Regions from separate parts of the Homo sapiens genome. Here region 2 is linked to region 1. Evidence: promoter capture Hi-C in 16 types of primary human blood cells and fetal thymus (Javierre and others, 2016). All regions are on one chromosome and are shown on one strand. The core of a region is centred on a gene start or on the middle of the fragment in contact, and the rest is flanking DNA. Distances in the headings are between cores, read along the strand shown. Region 1 holds the start of ARHGAP31 (Rho GTPase activating protein 31). Region 2 overlaps ARHGAP31 (Rho GTPase activating protein 31).

The links. The method cuts DNA at HindIII sites, captures the fragments that hold promoters and counts their contacts. A CHiCAGO score of 5 or more calls a contact.
Region 2: a fragment that was not itself captured here is called in contact with the fragment with the promoter of ARHGAP31 in region 1 in 4 of 17 cell types (activated CD4 T cells, monocytes, endothelial precursors and 1 more); the score reaches 6.6 in activated CD4 T cells.

What each region holds. Positions count from the first base shown.
Region 1 is chr3:119,292,044-119,296,382 of GRCh38, reverse strand. ARHGAP31 (Rho GTPase activating protein 31) reads right to left here and starts at 2,000. Exons shown (of 12, transcript NM_020754.4): 1 at 1,379-2,000. The coding sequence starts at 1,478. RefSeq lists a silencer at 1,568-1,687 and an enhancer at 2,528-2,577. The HindIII fragment of the contact is 3,332 bases long and covers 414-3,745 here.
Region 2 is chr3:119,357,107-119,361,445 of GRCh38, reverse strand. All of the region lies in intron 1 of ARHGAP31 (Rho GTPase activating protein 31), which reads right to left. Among named protein-coding and RNA genes, the nearest start is that of ARHGAP31-AS1, 37 kb to the right of the region's middle. RefSeq lists an enhancer at 1-594. The HindIII fragment of the contact is 3,035 bases long and covers 446-3,480 here.

The DNA of each region.
Region 1 (4,339 bases), core at 751-3,250:
TTTATCTCAAATCTACCTCTCCAGATGGTTGGTGAGGATTCAATGAAGTGTTAAGTTATGCATCAATTTCAAAAGAGTCAGTTTTGAAACCTGTGGTTCTCCAAGCTCTAAAATCCTAAGCTATTTGTCCTAATGACACAGCAGACTGAACTCTAGAATACCACAGGAATATCACACCACTGCAAATTACTAGGTGGTGCTGAGTCTCCCAAAACACAGAAGTGAAACAAAAGCATTGCACTGTTTTTGAAATGCATATTCGATATGGACTAATCAAATAGGTTTTGAGATTATTTTCCTGGAGGCAGAATTATTCCGCACGGTTACACAGCCCTTAGTTTTCCCCTTTGTTGTATCTATCTATGTATAAACACATGGCCTATATAGTAGGCTATTTTCCTCTCGCTGAAGCTTCTGAAGACAAGGCCTTTTTGTCAAGGGTAAGTGCAAAACCAGTCAACCTTACAAAAGGAGTCATTTAATGCTCAATTTTCCAACTTTCCTATGATTAAACACTTCTAAGCTCAAACGCTGTTATTGTAATCTAGATGGTGTTTTCTTTCCCCCTTCCCCAACAAATGTTTAAATTGTCTCCGCTGGATTCCCCCATCCCCAACTCCCCCCTACCCCCATCTGACCTTGAAAACAGAGAAGTTTTCCTTTTCTCTACTTACCCTAAACTATTTAAAAATGGAGGCCCTCTGACCTTTTTACAACACTCTTCTTGTCTGACACACCAAATGTTAATCTGAAAGCCAAGAGGAGGGAAAAGGTCTTGCAGGGCGGGGAGGGGGTTGTGGAAAGGGGGTGGAGGTACTATATATTTGGCATCAGCTCAGAAATTCAGAAATGTTTGTGCAACCACTCCCCCAGCCAGGATCCTCCCCCACCCCCCACCCGCAACTGCCTTCTAACACATTAATAAAAAAAGATGTGAGCAGACGAAATTGGAGAGCCCAGGAGGGACAGCTAAGGCGGTCATGATTTTGTACCCAGGCAAGACCACTGATCACCATCCCACATGTCCACCCCTCCTCCCTCCCTTCCAACGTGCCAAGTTTAGGATTGGGACCTCTGCAGCTTCCACCCCCATCCCCTGAGGTGGCCCGGTAAACTTGCGGCAGTACCACCCATTAACAGCTTGTGTGAGGCAAACGGAAGGACTGACACAGCAGCCTCTGCGCGTCGGGACAGCAGCGCTGTGCACCTTAAGAATCGTTTATGTTCTTTAAAAAAAAAAAAGAAAAAAAAGTGCAATGAGCGCACAGGCCTGGAATACATTAACTTGTGAACCGACTCTATCACAACTCGAGAGAGTCCGTCTCTCCCTCAAACAAAAAGAAGGTGGGGGCGGGGGAGAAAGGCCAAGGCACATTACCATCCTGTCCCGAGCTTTCCAGATACTCCGTCAGGTCACAGCCAAACGCGCTGGCGGCTCCCTTTCGTTTCAGCTTCTGCTTAGCACCCTTGTTCTTCATGAGTTAGTCCCAAAGAGGCTGCCCCTCCGTCTCTGCCGCCCCTCTGCTTGGCACCGCTGTAAGATGGGCTCCCGGGCTAGATCACCGGCTGCCCCGCGGCTCTGGGGGGCCGCATCGGAAGATGGAAGAACTTGGGCTGGGGGCCCTGCGCATGGACCCCGCGGGCCGCGGGCCGGCAGAGCCTGAGATCCACCCCGCGCCGCTCCGGGGCCGCCGTGCCGAGGCCGTGCAGACTGGCAGCCGCGGGCCGGCTCGCCTGGGAGTGTCACTTCCTCACTTGGAGTCCTAGGGACTTTCACAGGCTCCTGCGGTGTCTTCGGGTGTTTCTCCTCAGCTTAAGAGGGAGGGCAAGCTCTCCCCACCCCTTACTAAGTGCCCCGGAGACGACGCGGACGCGGGGCGAGGAGACTGCCCAGGGGGCTGCGGTGGGTCCTGCGCCCTGGGCCCGCTGTCTCGCCTTCAGACGACTTTGGTAGAGCGAAAAACAAGCATCCTGTCGCTGCTGCCCGCCCTCACGCCTTCCTTTTTTTCCTGTCTTACAAATCCTAGGATCATCCAGCTCAGGAAATGCTGGAAGGAAGTTAGCTAGGGAGGGGGGCGGTGGGTGGAAATTTTTGGCAGCTCGGTGCTTGTGAGTGTGTGGAGCTAGAGGAAGTAGGTGGGTGGGTTGAGGAGCACGGGGTTGGGGTAGAGAACGCGTTCTCCCGAGAGCAGTTCTGCGACTCCAGAGATAACTGGGCAGCCCCGGAGGAAATCGCGCTCTTCTCGCAGGACCCGCAGCCGCAGCCGCCGCTTCCTGCCCCGCCGAGCCGGCTCTTTGAAGTGGCGGGAGGAGGTGCGCTGGCATTCTGCGGGGACCGTGCTGGTTGGGACTTTCAGAACCCTCTGCCCTGGTTTTATCCTCATTGTCATCGTATCTTTGACACTTTCTATTTCGGTGCCCGCCTGTCTGCTACGCAAATACTTAAAGAGTAATGACAGAGACAAACAGGGGACTCCAGCGGAGAAACCTGACAGGCAGTGGCTTCACGCCGGCCACTCCCATCCCAACCTCCTCTGCAGCGTTCGTGCACCCCCACCTCAGCTCACTCCCCTCCCACTCTGGGGTAAAGATACCCCTGGGCAAAGAGAGGCTGCAGCTTTGTAACCACTGCCCAGGAAATCAGATTTCTGGTTACATATTCAAGACACACACACACACTACTGCAAAGTTTTCTAAATGGAAGTGATTTGGGGGGGACAAACCAGGATTTAAGATGCCTCTGACACATGAAATGTGAAGAAAGCAGTCTCCCAGGTTCTTTCATAATTTGTTTCAAGTTGTTTCAAGAGGGCATGTTTTTTTCTTCTCCAGTTAGATTTTAAATTCTTTAACTTCTGTGTACTCAGCACACAGAAAGCACTCAAATTCTTGTGATTTAACCATTTGAGGATTAGATGAAACTTCCTGTATAAATTCAAATCCATATACAGGCTTGAAGGATAGGGGCATATGTCATACAGCTCAGATTGCTGGCAAAGCTGCATCCGTAGCATTTTAGGTACTGAATCCCTTTACAGTCACTGTCTCTCTATGTAACCTTAACAGTCTATGAACTTTGACCCTTGACATTTTCTCTATGTCAGAGGTCACAACTTGATAGCCACCCTGCCAGATCTGGCCCATAGATGTACTTGGCTGGCAGACACCATGCTTTAACACGTTTTAAAATTAGTAGCTAGCATTAAAAAGTTAAGAGATTTCACATAAAATCTGAATTTCTGGCTTCTCTTGAAAAAATGGAAGATCTAGTTACACCACAAGTGCATTCCCATATGGCAAGGACGGCTGATGCTGAGTTGTGGCAGGCCCCTTGGAGGCACCCTCTTTAGAGAGACGACTCTTGCAGTTTTGCAGACCCCACGGCCTGTCTTCCCCCTTTTGCACCTGCCTGGCCTCTGCTGCCACTTGAGTTTGCAGCCCAACCTCTATGAATTGTCTTTCCTGTTTTTCATTTTCCATCTCTCAGTGACACTGAGAAGCATTTGCCCCAGTCATCTTGGTGAAATGTCTTCAAGTAACCACAGACTCATTTGTCTCCTTCCTCTCCCACCTGCAAGGTAGTCCCGCCCAGACGATGAGCTCTTCACCATGCCTCTCAGCTTGGTTTATTCCTTTCCAGGCCCACTCAGTGAGGACCATCCACTCCTCAATTATTAAAGTAACTCCTAGTGGGATTTGTTGAGTCCAATCTCCTCCACTTCCTCCATCCTATGTATTAAAAGCTTGAGGAGTCATCTTGAAGGATTGCTGTTGTTATATGCCTGCCTGCCTTGCTGAAAACCTTTCAATAGCTCCCCAGTCCTACTTTTAGGGCAGCAATTTCTAAGCATTTTGTAAACTGCTTGGAGAGTATCTGATAAGGTATTTGGTACAATGGCTTGTTCCTCCCTTTATTTATAGAGAAGCAGCTCCATATGGGACTATAATGATCACTATTAGCATTTGCTTAGCAGTTTACTTCAGCAAGGACTTTTGCATTCATTCTTTCATCTGACTTACGTGGATTTCATCATCTTGTCAGCAAAAGAGAGAGGCTGAAAGAGCCCCTTTTCTGAGTGCAAATAATGGAGAAATTGCCAAGCCCTGTTAATTACCTTTTTAAATATTTCAAAACTTCCTTTTAATGTTTCACTTTCAAGTAATTCCAGCTTATAAATAATTTACAGGCCGGGCGCAGTGGTTCACGCCTGTAATCCCAGCACTTTCGGAGGCCGAGGCGGGCAATCACGAGGTCAGGAGATCGAGACCATCATGGCTAACGCGGTGAAACCCCGTCTCTACTAAAAATACAAAAAAATTAGCCGGGCATGGTGGTGTC
Region 2 (4,339 bases), core at 714-3,213, 65 kb before region 1:
TGCACCACTGAACTCCAGACTGGGCGACAAAGCTAGACTCTGACTCTGTCTTAAAAAAAAAAAAAAAAAAAGGAATGTTGAAGAACCACTAGTCTAGACCAGGGCTTCTCACATACCTTAATGTGCATAAAATCACCTGGGGATTTCACTGATATGCATATTGCAATTCAGTAGGGAGGCAGGTGGTAGGAGTGTTGAGAATTTGCCTTTCTAACAAATTCCAGGTCATGCAGGTACTGCTAATCTGCAGCTCACACTCAGAATAGCAAGGGTCTGAAAATAGCCCTGGAGGGTAGTGTTGCAGTGGCTATTGTTAAGTCTCAAAGTCTCAGAATTCTTTAAACTATTGTCCCAGGGGTCCTATCAGATTGGGGACACCCTAGGATTCTGGACAGGGTAGAAGCTTGATCAAAATAGCTGAGTAGTTATAGACAGAAAGAAAGCTTCTATTGTCGATTTAGGCATGGGAAGGACTGACGCTGGAGGTCAGAGTCACAGAGCTCATTCTGTGGGATTCATCCTGGGCCCATAGAACTCTGAGTCTCCTCCTACAGAGGTACACATAGTTGCTGCTGATGACATAATATCATAGCTTCTTAGAATCATTTCACTTATGGCCCTCTAACTCCCTTGTTTTGTTTTGTTTTTCCTAGATCAGTTATCTTAAATGTTAAATTTTAATCTGAGCACAAAATACAACTTGAAGAGGTTTCTGAGGGAAAAGAAAATCTTGCCTTTGATTTATGCTTTACAGTTCATAAAATATTATACAGTCCTTTGTTTTATTTATTTCCTACTAACAGATATTTTACACTTATAAATAACATGGCATGTTTTCCTCATGTCCTAACCTCTTGAAGGGTTTAATGCAGAAAAGGCCAGAAGTCAAACATTTCTCGAAGTCACCCCCAGAAGTCATAACACTGCTAAGCTGCCTCAGTTCCCTGTGTGCCTGGGACCTGATCAGACCTGGAGACAGAGATTGAAAGAAGCACAGTTGTATTTGGTCATTTACGTGGTTGTGGTGGCCACATTCTTTCATAGTGCAAATGGCATTTGTGTTTTAGGGAAACAGGCACTCCCCCATCTCCATTCTGGATTTTGTTAAGGTCTTGACTTGGTCAGATTTCGTCCCCTCTCTGGATCCTGCATTCCTGACCTTCAAAGTAAAGTCTAGTGGTGTGTACACACAATATAATATACTCGGCAACAACAAGGAGTGATAAAGCCTGTGAGTGCAGCTCAAAGACACTCGGCTGGGTGATAGAAGCCAGACTATGAAAGACTACATAGGGTAGGATTCCATTTATGTAAAACTGTAGAAAATGCAAACTAACTTGTAGGAAGAGAAAGCAGGGAAGAGGCAGGAGGGAGGAATGACAAAGGAGCCGGAGGAAACATTTGGGCGTGATGGATATGTTCATCATCTTGTTTGAGGTAATAAAAAGGACCAAGAGCTGCCGGTGGGCAAAGAATAATGATACTTGAGGGAAGAGGGTAAGATAATGAGGGAGACAAGACACTGCACAGGAAGAAATCCTGTAAGCATCTGTTGCGATGCACACGGGAGAGAGGGGGGATTTTTAAACAATTTTGCTGTGCTGTGAATGGGCCCCCTCTTCAGCATTTTCCCAAGAGACGCAGTAAAGATTTACATTACTTCCTCATTTCTCTGGGTTGTGAGTACAGAACTTCCTAGGCGTTTCCCCCCCAGAATCCAAGAGCTCTCTCTGCCAGCCTCTGTTCTTTGTTCCTGTCCCATCCTTTCCCCATCCCTGTTCCACTCCTCTGTCCCATGCTCCTCCCTGGCCTCTGCGAGGCTCTCCCTGCCTGGAGGTCACTGCCCACCCCAATTTTCCCTCTGAGTCTCCTTCCTCCTCCCTGTTTTAACTTCTTTCTACTCTTTTCTTCCTGGCTTCATGTGGAATTAAATAAATGTTGAAAAGTTGTGGTATTTATTTAACAAAGTATAATGTGTTCTGTTCTTTAAAAAAAAAAACAAATGAACCACTTTCTAATTTTCTAAGAAAAAAAATTTAAAAATATGTTGAGGCTTTGGCTTGTCCTCCTTGGAGAAAAGTTTCCTTTTAAGCATTTTATTTTTTCTTTTTAAACCTGAGATATAGGCCAGTCACAGTGGCTCAGGCTGCCTATAATCCCAGCACTTTGGGAGGCCAAGGCAGGTGGATCACCTGAGGTCAGGAGTTCAAGACCAGCCTACCCAATACAGTGAAACCTCGTCTCTACTAAAACTACAAAAACTAGCCGGGCATGGTGGTGCACGCCTATAATCCCAGCTACTCAGGAGGCTGAGGCAGGAGAATCGCTTGAACCTGGGAATCAGAGGTTGCAGTGAGCTGAGATCAAACCATTGCACTCTAGCCTGGGTGACAGAGTGAGTGAGACTCTGTCTCAAAAAAAAAAAAAAGTTAAAAACAAAAAAACTGAAATATAATTAAAATACCATATAATTCACCCTTTAAAGTGTACGACTAAGTGATTTTTAGTGTATTCACAAGTTAAGCAATCATCACATTAATTCCAGAACATTTTCATCTCTCAAGAAAGGAACCCATATCCATTAGTAGTTACTGCCCATTTCCCCTTCTCCCAGCTCCAACAGCCACTAATCAACGTTCTATTTTCTATGGGTTTGCCCGTTTTGGACATTTCCTATAAATGAGATCTTAAAATATGTGGCCTTTGTGACGGACTTCTTTTATTTAGCATAGTGTTTTCAAGGTCCGTCCATGTTGTAGCATGTGTCAGTATTTCATTCATTTTTATGGCTGAATAAAATTCCAAATAAAGCCTTCATTTTGTTTATTCATTCACCAGTTGATAGAAATTTGAGTTATTTCCACTTTTTGCTATTAGGAATATTGTTGCTATGAACCTTTACGTACAAGTTTTTGTATGGATATATGTTTTCAATTCTCTTGGATATATATCCAAGGGGTGAAATGGCTAGGTCGTATGGTGACTCTACATTTAACTTTTGAGGCACTGCCAAACTGTTTTCCACAATAGTTGTGCCATTTTACATTCCCACCAGCAATGGATGAGGGTTCCAATTTTCCATATCCTTGTCAAGACTTGTTGTCTATCTTTTTTATTGTCATCCTAGTAGTTGTGAAGTGGTATCATTGCAGTTTGGTTTGCATTTCCCTGATAACAATGTAGAACATCTTTTCTTGTGCTTACTGGCCGTTTGTATATCTCTTTTGAAGAAATGTCTATTTGGATAATTTGTCCATTTTTAGTTGGGTGGTCTTTGCTGGGTTATGATTTCTTTATATATTCTGAATACTAGACTCTTATTAGACCTATGATTGGCAAATATTTTCTCCTATGCTGTGGGTGGTCTTTTCACTTTCTTGATGGTGTTCTTTGAAGCACAGAAGTTTTACATTTCAGTGAAGTCCAATTTATCTATGTTTTTCTTTTGTTGCTTGTGCTTTTTGTATCAGGAGAAAAGCTTCTTATTTCTGATTTATATTGTCCACATCCTTCATCATTGGTTATTGGAATAATGGTTCATCATTATGCACATGCATAAAGAGTGATGTTATAAGTAATGCAACTGTTTCTTATTGTTATAGATGAGAACATATAAATCCAAAGCAGCACTATCCTTTGAGAAACTAGACCATTATCTGGCTCAGAACATTTTTGAAACCACCCTTTGGGAACGGTTAGTTAGAAACTATATACATTTAACTCAAGTATAACCTCCTTCCAGGAGAAAAAGAGGAAAAAAAGAGTGAGAAGTGTTTATACTGTACTTCTCATTTTCCCTACAGGATTCAAAGCGATTGTTTTATTATTATTTCACTTTCGAATTTGTTTTGGGTAGAATGGGCTTTAGTTCTGTTTTCTCTTTAGTTCCTACAGACAGGGAATATATTTTATCTTTTAAAAACTGAGATTTGATTTAGAGGGAGGCCTAGGAGGTTTTCCACAATCTGGCCACACTCCCCCCTGCCAGTCTCATCACCGATTGCTGAGCTTTCCCTCCCTCTCAGCCCCACACAGGAATGCGGTGTTCCAGCCACGCTGGACAGCCTGCCACTTCCTGAATATGCTCTGCACCTTCACACCTTCCTGGCTTTGCACCCGATACTCCCTCGTCTGAGCCCATTGCCTCTTCTCCACTGAGAAACTCCTCCTGCTTATCTTTTGGGATTCAGCTCAAGCCTCAACTTCTCTATAAAGCCTTCCTCAGGCAGAACTAGGTTCTCCTTCCTCCGTGTTCTTATCTCTCCTGTGCCTCCTCCCTTTGTGGCACTTTCTAGAATTATCTAAATTCAATTCCACTGCAAATTAAAACTGCACTGAT